2 separate regions of the Homo sapiens genome follow, and region 2 is linked to region 1. Evidence: promoter capture Hi-C in 16 types of primary human blood cells and fetal thymus (Javierre and others, 2016). All regions are on one chromosome and are shown on one strand. Each heading gives the region's core, a stretch centred on a gene start or on the middle of the fragment in contact. The rest is flanking DNA. Distances are from core to core; before and after follow the strand shown.

The links. The method cuts DNA at HindIII sites, captures the fragments that hold promoters and counts their contacts. A CHiCAGO score of 5 or more calls a contact.
Region 2: a contact is called between a fragment that was not itself captured here and the fragment with the promoter of METAP1D in region 1, in 2 of 17 cell types (neutrophils and monocytes). The highest score is 5.7, in neutrophils.

What each region holds. Positions count from the first base shown.
Region 1 is chr2:171,996,869-172,004,081 of GRCh38, reverse strand. METAP1D (methionyl aminopeptidase type 1D, mitochondrial) reads right to left here and starts at 4,129. Exons shown (of 10, transcript NM_199227.3): 1 at 4,073-4,129. The coding sequence starts at 4,112. LOC124905590 (a long non-coding RNA gene) reads left to right here and starts at 4,173. Exons shown (of 3, transcript XR_007087296.1): 1 at 4,173-4,403. RefSeq lists a silencer at 4,135-4,434. The HindIII fragment of the contact is 8,153 bases long and covers 1,068-7,213 here.
Region 2 is chr2:171,794,605-171,801,817 of GRCh38, reverse strand. The region is part of intron 13 of SLC25A12 (solute carrier family 25 member 12); the gene reads left to right. Among named protein-coding and RNA genes, the nearest start is that of SLC25A12, 96 kb to the left of the region's middle. RefSeq lists an enhancer at 3,129-3,659. The HindIII fragment of the contact is 1,734 bases long and covers 2,377-4,110 here.

The DNA.
Region 1 (7,213 bases), core at 2,880-5,379:
AAATAAGTAAATGGCCAGGTGCGGTGGTTCATGCCTGTAATCCCAGCACTGTGGGAGGCTGAGGCAGGCGGATCACTTGAAGTCAGAAGTTCAAGAGAGACCAGCCTGGCCAACATGGCAAAACCCCGTGTCTACTTAAAAATACAAAAATTAGCCAGGCGTGGTGGTGGGCACCTGTGGTCCCAGCTACTCGGGAGGCTGAGGCAGGAGAATCACTTCAACCCGGGAGGCAGAGGTTGCAGTGAGCCAAGATCGCACCACTGCACTTCACCCTGTGCTACAGGGCGAGACTCTGTCTCAAAAAAAAAAGAAAGAAAATATGCCCTCTTACTTGCTGTATTAGTCTGTTCTCACACTGCTATGAAGAAATTCCTGAGACTGGGTAATTTATAAAGAAAAGGGGTTTAATTGACTCACAGTTCTGCATGGCTCGGGAGGCCTCAGGAAATGTATAATCATGGCAGAAGGCACCTCTTCACAGGGTGGCAGGAGAGAGAATGAGTGCAAGCAGGAGAAAATGCCAGACGCTTATAAAACTATCAGATCTCCTGAGACTCACTCATTATCACAAGAACAGAATGGGGGAAACTATCCCCATGATCCAATTACCTCTACCTGGTCCTGCCCTTGACACATGGGGATTATTACAATTCAAGCTGAGATTTCCTTGTTCCTCTTCATATTCACTGGGATCTTGCTTCGTGGCCCGAGCTAGACCTGGGATTCCAGTGAAGCGAGGGCTGGGAGTGAGACTGAGATAGGAGAGAGTTCCTGGGGCCCCAGGGTAGGGATTCTGTACTCTGAGGAAGGGATTTCCTGCCAGCACTAATACTTGGGAGTATTTTAGTCCCTTAAAGGCCCTTGTTACCTTCTCTCTTGGTTCCAAGAGGCTGATCTGTCTTTTCCTCTTTCCAATGTCACTACTCATAGTTTCTACCCAACCCTCCTTAGACCATGATGGAAGAGAACAAATCTTAACAGCCTCTCAATTCTGTATACTTTTAATGAGCTTAACTTTGAGCCAGGTACTGTGCTTATAAAGACAGAAAGATACATAAGACAAAGCTTCTGTTCAACAAGAATTAATAATCTAGTAAGGAGCAGAAATGGTGAGAGGAGCTAGGTAACTACTGTATATAGGGTATACTGTGACCAAAGCCACAATGAGTTGAGGCGTCACAAGAGAAACCTCATGCCTTTTTTAAAAGGTTAAAAAAAAGTCTTCCTCTATTTCAAGAAGAAATGATGCTCATAAATGCTGATAATAAATCCTGGTACATGAAGACTTGTAATGGATTGCTTTACATAAATCTAGATGGGTGAAAGGGAGGAAGAGGGTGGAGAGAGGAGTCTTCGTGAATTTACCCTTCATTTTCAATTCTTGGGGGTGGGGAGCAGGAAAACCTCTCTGCAATTTAAAACTAGCTATGGGTAGTCCAAAAAGGGGCCCTTTCTCCATCATTAAAATAGCTTCCTGATGACACATTTTTCTTCTCTCCTCTAATCAGAGGATCCACTTCTTGGTTGTTGCAACACTTTGGGATACAGTGGGATGGATTATAGGAACCAATAACTTGGCCTGACTTCCATATAATATATTTTCTCAAGACTGTCTAAACCACCATTTGTCAAAATAATAAGTGATCAAAAAGAAAGAAAAGATTAATGCTATTTCTGTTATCTGCAAAGAGATGTTATATATACAGTTGGTGCAAAGTAATCACAGTTTTTGTCATTGATTCTAAAACTGCAATTACTTTTGTACCAACCTAATACATATATACACACATATAAAAATACGTTTATACATGCATAGGTGTATATATATATACATACATACACCTATGTATGTTTTCAGGTTGTTTTTTTTTTGGCTCCTCCTCTACATTGACTATCTCCTCAGATCCTTCTCACCATTACCTGAAGCATACAAAAATGAAGTCTAAAAGCCATGATTTCTTGTGAAAAGAGGAAACAGAAAAGTAATTAGTAAAGAAAGTTTGGACTGGAACCCAGATCTTTTTTTTTTTTTTTTCAGCTCACTACAACCTCCGCCTCCTGGGTTCAGGCGATCCCTCCCACCTCCACCTCCCAAGTAGCTGGGATTACCAGCATGTGCCACCACACCTGGCTAATTTTTGTATTTTTAGTAGAGACAGGTTTCACCATGTTGGCCAGGCTGGTCTTGAACTCCTGGCCTCAAGTGATCTGCCCGCCTTGGCCTCCCAAAGTGCTGGGTAATATTACAGGCATTAGCCACCTTGCCAGGCCTGGCACCCAGATCTTGAGAGATGTAAATTGGCTGTCTTTTCACAAGGCTACACTCTCATGCTGATGTCCATTCCTTCATGCAACCAGTCCAAAATGCTCGCTACATCACCTTCCCCATACACATCTCTCCCCTCAAATCTTCCTGTGGCCCCTTTCTCATCTCCACTAACACTGAAATACTGAAGTCTATTCGATTACCAACCTTCTTCCTCTCTAAAAATATCTTCCTCTTCACTTCTTATTTTTTATTATTTTTATTTATTTTTTTTTTCTGAGACGGAGTCTCGCTCTGTCGCCCAGGCTAGAGTGTAGTGGTATGATCTCAGCTCACTGCAACCTCCACCTCCTGGGTTAAAGCAATTTTCCTACCTCAGTCTCCCGAGTAGCTGGGATTACAGGCATGCGCCACCACGCCCAGCTAATTGTGTATATTAGTAGAGACGGGGTTTCACCATGTTGGCCAGGCTGGTCTTGAACTTCTGACCTCAAGTGAGCCACCTGCCTCGGCCTCCCAAAGTGCTGGGTTTACAGGTGTGAGCCACCGTGCCCAGGCTCTCTTCACTTTTTGTACACACTCATCCTGCACTGTCTCTGCTGAACTTTACACACTGACTTCTATGGAGTGACCACGTCATGCAGTACCGAGAAATGAGTCTTAAAAAAAAAAATTAGAGTCATGTTCAAATGAGCAATCTGCCTCTTACCATTTATGCGACCTTAGTAATGTTACTTAACCTCTCTAGCCTTACTTTTCCCTTCTGCAAAGAGAAAATAATTCCTAACTCACTGGGTTTTTGTTTTTGTTTTTGAGACAGGGTCTGGCTCTATTGCCAAGTCTGGAGTTCAGTGGTACGATCACGGCTCACTGCAGCCTCTTGACCTCCCAGGCTCAAGCGATCCTACCACCTCAACCCCCAGAATAGCTGAGACTACAGGCATGTGTCACCACGCCCGACTAATTTTTAAAATTTTTTGTAGAGACGGGGTCTCATTCATTGAGTTTTAAAAGGAAGCAAGCATATGTAAGGCGCTTAACACAGTATCGTGTACTTAAAAGGCACTTAATAAACAGTAGCTGTTACTATGAAAATAATATTTACCTCACAAAACTGTTCCTACATGCCTGACGCTTAAGTAGCTCCTCAAAATATGATAGTTTTCCTCTTCCCCCGTCCTTGGAAAAACTTTCTAGTTCTTTCCAACAAAGATTCAGCACCTAGTTCAAATCCAACAAAGATTTCCCCAATTCTGCTGCAAAGGCATTTGTATATTTACTAAAATCTCAACACTCACGCAGGATAAAACCTACTTAGAACTACCCAGACATCCTTTCTTATCTTCTTAACTTTAAGTCACTGGAAGAAAACCATCACATTTTGCAAGTCCCCAAAAAGCATGCCTGCATAAAAGCTCTAGGGAAGGGAACCGGGTGTCCAGATGCATTTCAGAATTACCATAGGTTTCCTTGCTCGGCATACAGAATAAATGTTGGTTACACTAATGATACAACCGAAGTTGGGGAAAAAAACTTCAGACAATGGCCCGCAAATCTCAAGGAGTAATTGCGAAAAGATGCCACGTGGTGACGTGTTCTAGGCGGGTGATCAGTGAACAAATTTGTATGTGTGATCCTGTGGTGTGTGAATGTGTCATCGTGTGTGCCTGCGTGTGTTCGTAAACACTGAAAGTACAGTCGTGTGCGCCGAGAAGTCTGAGCGCGGGTGCGCATCCCTTTGGACCCGGGTGCGTACCTAGTGAGCAACCGTGCGAACCCTCACGGGGCTCTCCTCCACGCGCTTACCTCTGCGGACGAGCAGGTGGACGCCACTGGGCGCCGCCATGTTGGCGTCGGTCACGTGGCCGCGAGCACTCGCTCGCCGCCCCGCCCGCTGGAGCCGGCCAGTCGCAGCCCTGCCGAAGCCCTGAGGCGTCGAGGCCGCCCGAGGGGAGCGCGCGTGCGCGCGCGGGGCTGACTGCGGGAGCCCTGGCTGGGAAGCGGCTAGGGCACCCGGGCAAGCAGCAGAACCCGCGGCCGGCTGAGTCCTCTCCAGCCGCGAGAGGCGGGCTCCAGCCGCGGCTCGCGCGCTCGCTCTGAGCCCCCGCGCCCAGGTGGGATGGAAGAAGCCTGTCAGGTAAGCGTGGCATCCAATATTTATAGCATCAACATTTTGGTGCATGGAAACGTGAAGTTGGGCGGAAAAAATAAAGCACAATCTAGTGTTCAACATAGCACTTTGTATCGTCTGCCACTCTGTTGCAAATTATTCCCCTGGATTCAGTTGAAAGGTAAAATTTGGTTCAAAGTCACCAGCTCCCCTTTTGCTGTCCCAGAATCTACATTACTCAGCAGAGACTCCAGACAACACAGGATCTGTGTGTCGCTGCAAAATCTATTCTAGGTACCCCAGTGGGTATGTTCAGGAGACTTCTCTTTCTCCAAGGACGCCTTCTGCTTGGCAGTATTAACTGGAGTCTTAATCCTAAATTTGGAGTTTAAGTATAAAAGGATGACGCCTGCCAATTGCATTGCCAAGAGAAGAAGCCTACAGAAGGCCAATTGTGAATCAGATGAGGGAGCTGATGTATGCCTACTGATGACGGTGCCCATTTTTACCAAATTCACTGTCTCTCTTACCTGTGTTCTGGGGTAGATGCCATCCTGTCATGGACCAGGTGTTATTCATCTTAGTAGCCTCCGTGCCCGGCACAGAACCCGATACCCGAGGAATGTCAGGTGAAGCAATTGAACACTGCATGAAACCAGTCAAACTGAGAATGTAACCGTTTCCAGACTTTAAATGCAGTGAAGATTGATTAGGATTCTCAGTGAATGTGTGTGATGTCTTCTAATTAATTTTTAAGCACTACACACTCAGTGAATAATCTAGACAATTCAGAACAATTCAGAAATAAGGAACAAGTGCAAGCCCCTTCCTCGCCCTCTGTACATACCATAGTCCCACTCCCCAGTTAACCACCGTGTGCTCAATTGAGATCTTTGCCTTTTACACACAGGCAAATGTAAGTATTTTAAATAGAATCATATGACTTGCTTTTTCCATTCCAGTCATCATAGGCATCAAATCTTAGAACACTTAGTTCAGACTTATTCTTTTTAATGACTATATAATCTTGATATTTTTACTTTTAAAGAGAGTGAATGTTGGCATTTCATTAGAGGACACATGCTATAATTCTGGAAAACCTGGTTTTGGATGCTTTTGGGTCACCTTGAAAGATAAAGAGAAGTAATGCTTTCCATCAGGGTAAATAAGATGCACAAGAATGAGAATAAAATGTACTCCTACCTTTTGCAAACTCATTTCAATTCCAGGGAGAGCATTTTTGAATGTGGCAAATCTGTCCTCTGTGTAACTGAGGCCAGCAATCTGAGTGCAGCAAAGGAGCCTGAGAGTTAGCTGGCCACAGAGTCTTAAGCAGTGTACAGAAAAAAGAAATCTAGACATCCCTATTCCTTAAGGCATCAAGCCTAGTTTCAAACCCATCTGAAATAGAACACATGTTCATGTGACTTAACTCAGCCAACCCTTGGAAAATAAATGAATGCTTTATTCCCCTACAACTAAAAGGAAAAGGAAACACTATGAGGACCCAGGTGGCACCAGCAGTAGTGGAATCCAGTGAGGAAATCCTCAATAAGTTCGGCATGGAATGTAGATATCTGGGATGAGCTAGAAATGAAGCAAATATGAACTTGCACAGGTGATAGCTCATCCACTGACCCTGGATCTGGCTTCTCTCATACACATCCTTCTCACCGCAGAAGGGTTAAAAGCTGCCAGCACATGTCCGCCAAAACCATCAACTTATGGGATATAAGCTGGGTGTGGTGGCTCATGCCTGTAATCCCAGCACTTTGGGAGGCGAACGCAGGCAGATCACTTGAGGTCAGGAATTCGAGACCAGCTTGGGCAACATGGTGAAACCTGTCTCTACTAAAAATACAAAAATTAGCCAGGCATGGTGGTGCATGCCTGCAATCCCAGCTACTCAGAGGCTAAGGCGGGAGAATCACTTGAACCTGGGAGGCAGAGTTTACAGTGAGCCGAGATCCTGCCACTGCACTCCAGCCTGTGCCACAGAGGAAGATTCTCTCAAAAAAAAAAAAAAAAGGGATATATACATAGTGACCAACAAGATAAAGGGCTAGATCACTGATATCTAGGATCCCTTGCAATTTTAACATTCTGTGATCTTGAGCATTAGAGTGCTTTTATTTAGATGAGTAACCGCTACTGAGTCACTTCTCTACTCCATTTCTGTCCGTGCTCCTATCTGTGAAATGAAGGTTAATTATATTATGGCACTTCACTGATTTGAATTCTTACCATTAGTCAGATTTTGTACTTAGGATTCTTGAATAAAAAATTGAATAATTCGGCCGGGTGCAGTGGCTCACACCTGTAATTCCAACACTTTGGGAAGCCAAGGCAGGAGGATTGCTTGAGCCCAGGAGTTGGAGACCCAGCTGGGCAACATAGTGAGACCCCGTGTCTACAAAAAATTTACAAACTAGCTAGATGTGGTGGCACATGCATATAGTCCCAGCTACTTGGGAGGCTGAGGCAGGAGGAGCGCTTGAGCCCCGGAGTTTGAGGCTGCAGTGAGCTGTGATTGTGCCACTGCACTGTAGCCTGGGCAACAGAGCAAGACTCTGTCTCAAAAAAAAAAAGTTGAATAACTTTTGAAAACCAGGGTTCAAGAAATAAAGGATAACTTAATACCTTCAGTTTATGTCCAAAAATTCATTCTTGAATGTTAAAATATTTTGATTGTGATTATTATTTTATAGGTCTTTACCTTGATTTTCAAAAGATCATGTCTTATTCACATCTTTTAAAATCTTTTTATTTATAAAAGATATAAATCAAATAAATTCCAATATGCATATTTTTGAAAAACCCATTTTTCCTTCCTCCTT
Region 2 (7,213 bases), core at 1,994-4,493, 200 kb after region 1:
ACCTAACCTTCTGAATGTCATAGCTTAGCCTATCCTACCTAAAACATGCTCAGAACACTTATGTTAGCCTATAATTGGGCAAAATCATAAAACACAAAGCCTGTTTTATAATACAGTATTGGATATCTCATGTAATTTATTGAATACTGTACTGAAAGTGAAAAACAGGCTGTATGAGTACTTGAAGTATTGTTTCTACTGAATGCATATTGCTTTTGCACCATTGTAAAGTCAAAAAACCATAAGTTGTATCATTGTTAAGTTGGGGACCACCTGTATATATGTGTTTATATATAATATTTATATGTACAAATGTATGTTTATTCGAAGACACAAATATAATTGAATGTTTGATTATGATATCTATTGTGGGCAAAAATAGTACCTTAATGTCAACCTAGAATTTTCAAAGTACATTATTATGCATTATTGTCACCCTCTATAAAATAGGTAGATGAGAAACAGAAGTCCAAAAAGGCTAACTCTCTTACCCCAATTTACACAGCTAATATATGCTGGAGGTTTCATGTGAACCCAAGTATTCTGATTTTTTTAGACCAAGTCCTTTTATTCTATGATGTCCTTTTGGGGGAATCAAATCATTGATTGTGTCAAAATAAATCTAGATGACACTATTCAACTTTATAGTGACTTTCTTGCCTCTTTCCTTCCTTCCTTTAATAAGTGTATGAATATGACATATTTACATATTTGGTTTTTTAGGTATAATTAACATTTTTAAAAGGAACAGATTTTAGATATTCAGCTCAATGAGTTTTGACAGTTGTATACACCCATGTAATCACCACCTAAGATAATGAACATTTCACCCCAGAAAAGTCGTTCATGCGTCTTTCCATTCAGTCCCTTCTCCCTTACCCCATGCAACCACACTTCTGATTTCTGTCTGAAGTTTTGTTGTTCTTGGATTTCATGTAAATGGAGTGCACGAGATGCATTCTTTCATGGCTGGCTTCTTTTGTTTAACATGTTTTCAGAGAGTCATCCTTGTGTGGGTATCAGGTTTGTGTTTGTTTTAAATTTTGCTGAGTAGTATTTCATCGTACGAATTTACCACAATTTGTTTATCCATTTTTCTCTTGATGGATGTTTGGGTTTTTGTCTGTTACAAATAAGGTTGCTGTAAACATTCTTGTACAAATCTTTTTGTCAACCAATATTTTCATTTTTCTTGGGTATCTAAGAATAGAATAGAGTCGATGTATATTCAATTTAAAATAAACTGCCAGTTAGTTCTTAGAAGTGGATGGATCATTTTATAGTCTCCTAAGCAGTGTACAAGTATTCCAGTTGTTCCACATCTTCACTAATGTTTGATATCTGTAGTGTTTTTGATAGTAATCATTGTAGGTATGTGAAATAGTATCTTATTGTGGTTTAAATTTGCATTCTTCTGATTCCTAAAGATGTTGATTATCTTTTCATGTGTTTATTGGCTATTCGTATATGTGTGTGTGTGTGTGTGTGTGTGTGAAGTATCTGTTCAAGTCTTTTGCGTACATTTTATTAGGTTTCATATTTTTTACTAATTGTAAAAGTTGTTTATACATCATGGATACAGCCCTTTGTCAAACAGATGTGTTGTGGATATTTTTTTGCCAGTTTGTGACTTGTTTATTACTTTTATTAATGATGTTTATAGTAGTTTTTAAAGAAAAAGTAATTATGTAGTTTTTTGGATAGATCCAGAAACTTAAGGGAGAATAAATTTAAATATCTTTTCAAATTAACAAAGCAGAATATTAAAAAATCTAAATGGACTAACCTTTAGGTACTTTCTAATGGTCTCTTTGGTAAGTACCTGTTCTTTTTTAATTGTTAAACTCGAATCAGAGATTAGTGATAAACTTACCTAGCTGACTGCATTACCTCTTTCAGAGAGTATATACTCCTGAGTGGATGGAAGTCATGAAACTCAAAACTTATTACTCAGCAAAGTGCTAATGTTGCAGGTGAATTTTCACAACCCTATGCGAACACACTTTCTGGAGAACACGTTCTTTCCCTTTGTGTCTTGCTTTCAGTCTGCATAGTGCTCTCAAATGAGTTAGTAGTGCACAAGACCTCGGTGAGGCAGAGAGCATGGTTGTGGGAATGGAATGGTTATGCCGAATGCAAAATCTATGACGATCTAGGTCAGTAGTCTTCCAAACCTAGAATCTTTCAACTCTCCCATGCTTTTTCTCAGCTTAAGCATGTGTCTACACACACCACATACACACACCCTCCCTTCATATCGGTAAAGCAAAAAGCCCACATGTTAGGCGGAGCATTTACTAATCCTGGGGGCCAAGATCTGTAACTAGCCAGCTCCTTATGATGAAGAATTCTATGTCTTCCTCAGCAAGCCAAGCTTGTATATCTCTAAAGAGTAGTTTGGAAACAGCTCTTCCACCTCTCATCCCCAGGAATTAGTGTAGTCCAACTTTATGCCTACATACTTATGTGAACACATATAGATATGCATACAAGTTGAAAATCCTTATATATTTATGTCAAAAGTGGCTTATGATAGGTACACAGGGATTTTCATTCTTGCTGTCTTAGTTCATTTTGGCTGCTATTAAAAAATACCTTCGATGGAGTAATTTATAAACAACAGAAATTTATTGCTCACAATTCTGGAGGCTGGAAGTTCAAGATCAAGGTACCAGCAGATTCAGTGTCTGGTGAGGGAGGGCTTGCTCTCTGCTTCCAAGATGGCACCTTGCTGCTGTGTGCTTGCATGTACCTTGCTGCTGTGTGCTTGCATGTACCTTGCTGCTGTGTGCTTGCATGGTAGGAGAGACAAGGCAGCTCCCTTCAACCTCATTTATAAGGGCACTAATCCCATTCACTAGGGCAGAACCATCATGACTTAATCACCTCCCAAAAGGCCCTACTTCTTAATACTATAATGTTGGATATTAGTTCCAACATATGCATTGTGGGGAAACACCAATATTCGGATCATAGCACTTCCCTTACCCTAGTTAGGAGTATATGTAGTGTTAATTTGTAACACCCTCGCATATATCATCACTCAGCAATGAGCACATTGCATTTATTTCTTTTAAACTATCACTATCCTATTTTAGAAAGAACCATAGCATTTCCTATTGCTTTACAAAAATATGAACGGTTGGTGGTGTGCAAGGCTGAGTCACTGTCTGTTCCTGTTCCTCTTGAGTCAGTCCTAGTGACAGCTAGTTCTGTGACTTTTACTGTTTATCTGGTTATTTTATACGCACATACTGTGTTCATCTGGAGTTGATGTGACCTTAAATAAATTGAAGTTAGATTTTCATCAGTCTCGATAAGGGAAGACTTTATAATGAGTTGCTTAGATTGGATATTTTGTGGTTGGAGGGAAATCATTTCAATCTATAGGAGACAACAGATCAAAGAAGGAAATAAACAAAGGACTTGGCACAAGCAGGGCCCAGCCTCCAACCTCTTTGTGAACCTTGCCCCAGGGGTAGGATTGAGAGGGCAGAAGGTTGAATAGGCCTAATCCTGTATACAGCCCCTCGGCCTTTGGCACTGTGGAGGCATGGTGACATCTCAAAATTACATCCTTTTCCCCGCTAACTTTTGCTGTCAGCTTTAGTTGATTTTCTCATTAAAAAATTCATATGATATAAGATTAAATGGAAGTTTTTTATTCTTTCCATTTCTGTTATATATGGGTAACCCTCATTCAAAATGAGATTTGTTCTCTTTTATGTATCTTTTAAACTCAGTTCTAGAACAAAGAAATGACAACAGAATACTGAAAAATAGAAAGCATCTAAGTCTGTTTTAGTATTAATGTTTGTATCTCTTTTAAAAAATAGGCGGGAAATTTAAGCAATTAGAGAATTAGAAGCTAATTTTGGTGATTTCATGAGTGAAAAAAATTCAGCAAAGGTATGATATAGAGTGGTATGTTATCTAATGTAAGCATTAGTAACAGAAGCAGCAAGATGCCAAATTTAGCAATGTCCATTTACATTTATATAGCTGTGTATCATTGTGATTTAATTTAAAATTTTATATATCTTAGTGTCGATTATTTCAGGTCACTAGCTATATTTGATTAGGTTTTTTGATGTTCATATATAATAAGCTTTTTAAAAAACCTTGGGTCCACAGTAACTAACGCCAACCAGTTTAAAAAATATATTTGCCAAATTACCAAATTTACCATGAAGAAGAATATGCGAGAGAAGACTTAGTCTATAAAGAAGCCATTGTTTCTAAGACCAGGTCTGTTTCTTGTTGTTGTTGCGTAGTTAATACATTCATATGTTTTGAAATTTAAAAGGTACAATAGAGTATGCTATGAAAATTATTTCTCCCAGCTATTCAGTTTCTCTTTCCAGGAGGCAATCAATGTTTTAATCTTTAAGCCACTTGGGTTTTGAGAAACTTAGGTAAATTTTGACATATTTATGATCAAATGTGTGCCTAATATTTTATGTTCTGTTTTTGTCATTTGGCGTGATTTTATTATCAAATCATATTGCCCAATTAATAGCATAGAATTGTATCTACTTAGCTGTTTTATTGGGAATTTGAATTTCTTCCTGTTCAATTTTGCTGCTATTAAAAATAGCAAACATTAGCATATTTGTAGAAATACAGGTACTATTTTTTATTGAAAAGTTACTGTATTTATGAAATTCTCTATATTAAAGATTATATTTACTGCAAGCAGTGCTTTTCCCCTTTGGAAAGCTGTTATTAATGATATCATTTATAATCAATAGAGTCTTAGAAGAAATATGGTATTTCTCTGTATTTGTTTCGCAGAGAGGAAACACCCAGTTCAAGAGTTTGATAACATCATAGTCCCTCATTCTGAGTTGCTTGATTTATTACCAGTATAATTGAACTAATCTCAGATTTTACTCCCCCTTCCCTATCCCCAGTTTAATATGTAGGATAGAGAGAGTGGTCAACCTCAGAATCCGAAAAAGAACAGTGCATATTTGCCATGTGTGTTTCCCTTTAAGCATTATAAACATCCAGAGTTTTAGACAAATTATTACGTTGGTACAAAAGTAACTGCGGTTTTTGCAGTCTTTATCTTTGCTAAAATTATTCAGCGTTTCTGGAAAGTATTTGCCTTATGTTCCTAGGCCTATCATGAGGTTTTAAAAATGTATACTAATTACTAAAAAAAAAAAAATTTTAAGAGATAGGGGTCTTGCTCCATTGCCCAGGCTGGCCTTGAACTCCTGGGCTCAAGTAATCCTCCTGCCTCAGTCTTGTGAGCAGCTGGGACTACAGGCATGTGTCATTGCACTTGGCTTGTATGTTAATTTTTAAAACATATACAAATCATTAATTGTCAGAAGTTTTCCTCCTTCAAACATAGGCATGAAACAAACTTACAGATGTGTGCCTTGCTATAGTGTCATTGATTATTTGCACTCTTACTTGCTAGATTATATGTGTTTATAAATGCACATCAATTGAGTTTTGTGGTTATGTCCTGTGCGTTGTTGGGATTTGGTATGTGTGCTAGGTAACTAATCTTCAAAGCATACAACAATTAAGGTGTATGTATTTTTAAAATGTAGTCCCAGCTGGGTGCAGTGGCTCACGCCTGTAATCTTAGCATTTTGGAAGGCCAAGGCGAGTGGATCGCTTGAGCCTAGCAGTTCGAGATCAGCCTGGGCAACATGGTAAGACCCCCATCTCTACAAAAAATACAAAAATTAGCTGGGCGTGGTGGTGCACGCTTGTAGTCCCAGCTACTCGGGAAGCTGAGGTGGGAGGATCACCTGAACCTGGGGAGGTTGAGGTTGCAGTGAGCTGTTCCTGCCACTGCACTCCAGCCTGGGTGACAGAGTGAGGCCCTGTCTCAAACAAACAAACACAAACAAAATGTAGTCAGTTATTTCTTTTTATTGTACCATTTTTGTAAAGTTTCAGTAGAAAGCCTATTACTTGTATACTTCAAAAAATTTGAAGCATTGTTAAAGGAGTATAAATCTCAATCAATTATTTCTAAAAGAGAGAAGGAAGAGGAGGAGGCAGCTGTGGGGTGGGGGTGGGGGACACGGATTGGAGTACTCCTGCCCAGCAGGATGTTATAATTTACTAATGATTACAAACATGAAAGACCTTAGTATTTATTTAAACATAATGTCCACATTTAACACTTGGCACCCAGGGACTGACACTGTCTGGTAGTGGCAAATTTGGGGGAATTAGAATAAAAATTTGTGGTTCTATTCATTTTTAAATCTGCTTTAGTTAAAACATAAAGCAGATATGCAACCATTATTTAAGATAGTCTTTGCAACCATTATTTAAACAAGAGATTTCAGGGAAGTAGTAAACTTTTTCAATTGATTTGGTCTTTAATACTAGCTACAGGAGCAATTACTTGGATTATCATTTTAACATAATTTTTCATGCAGCAATCCTTTTGAAAGTATTGTTTGCTTAGATTGAAACATTAAAGTGCTTCCTTCTGCCTGCAGTACAACAGATTCAAAGAGAGAGAAAGGCAGGCAAATCAACATGTAAAATTGGGTCAGTACATCGTTGGGGGACCTGTGTGCCAGTGGTCTGGATTGTGTCGAGTTGAGGAGTTAGAGGAAACCATGAGAGAGAGATAGCAAATTGCTGCACCTCCCTGCTCGAAGGACAAAGAGGGGATTAAGGCCCTGGGGAATCCAGGACAATAAGCTGTCCATGAAGAGGGAAGGAATTTAGTATCAGTGCTGGCAATTTTGAATATTGAAAGGAGTTAAGGAGTCAGGATTGGAATAGGGGTAGTTGGGGGATTTATAGTCCCAAGGCAATTAGGAAAATGGGCTGAGCCATGTTCCTGCCCCTTGGAAGCGGGTCTGGGAGGGCTTTGGGTTTTAGATAAGTGAGCAGGAATGTGGGCAAAGGTTGAGCACTGAAGTGCCATTGAAAGCTGCATGTGAATTTTTAGGTGTTCTATACCTGTGGAATTACAGTGCCCCAGATTTCATATTTCACATGTGATTATATACAATGATTATAATGATATGAATATCATTATGAATATTATATGAGTATGGTTATGATTACATAATATAAACAGCTACAGTTGAAGATGTACAAATGGGATTTTTCATTTCATGAAAGGAGATATATATTTTATTTATTTTTATATATCCATAGTCACACACATTTTTTTCTTTCTTACAGAAACCAAAAAAAAGAAGTTGGTAGAAGTTTTGTTAAA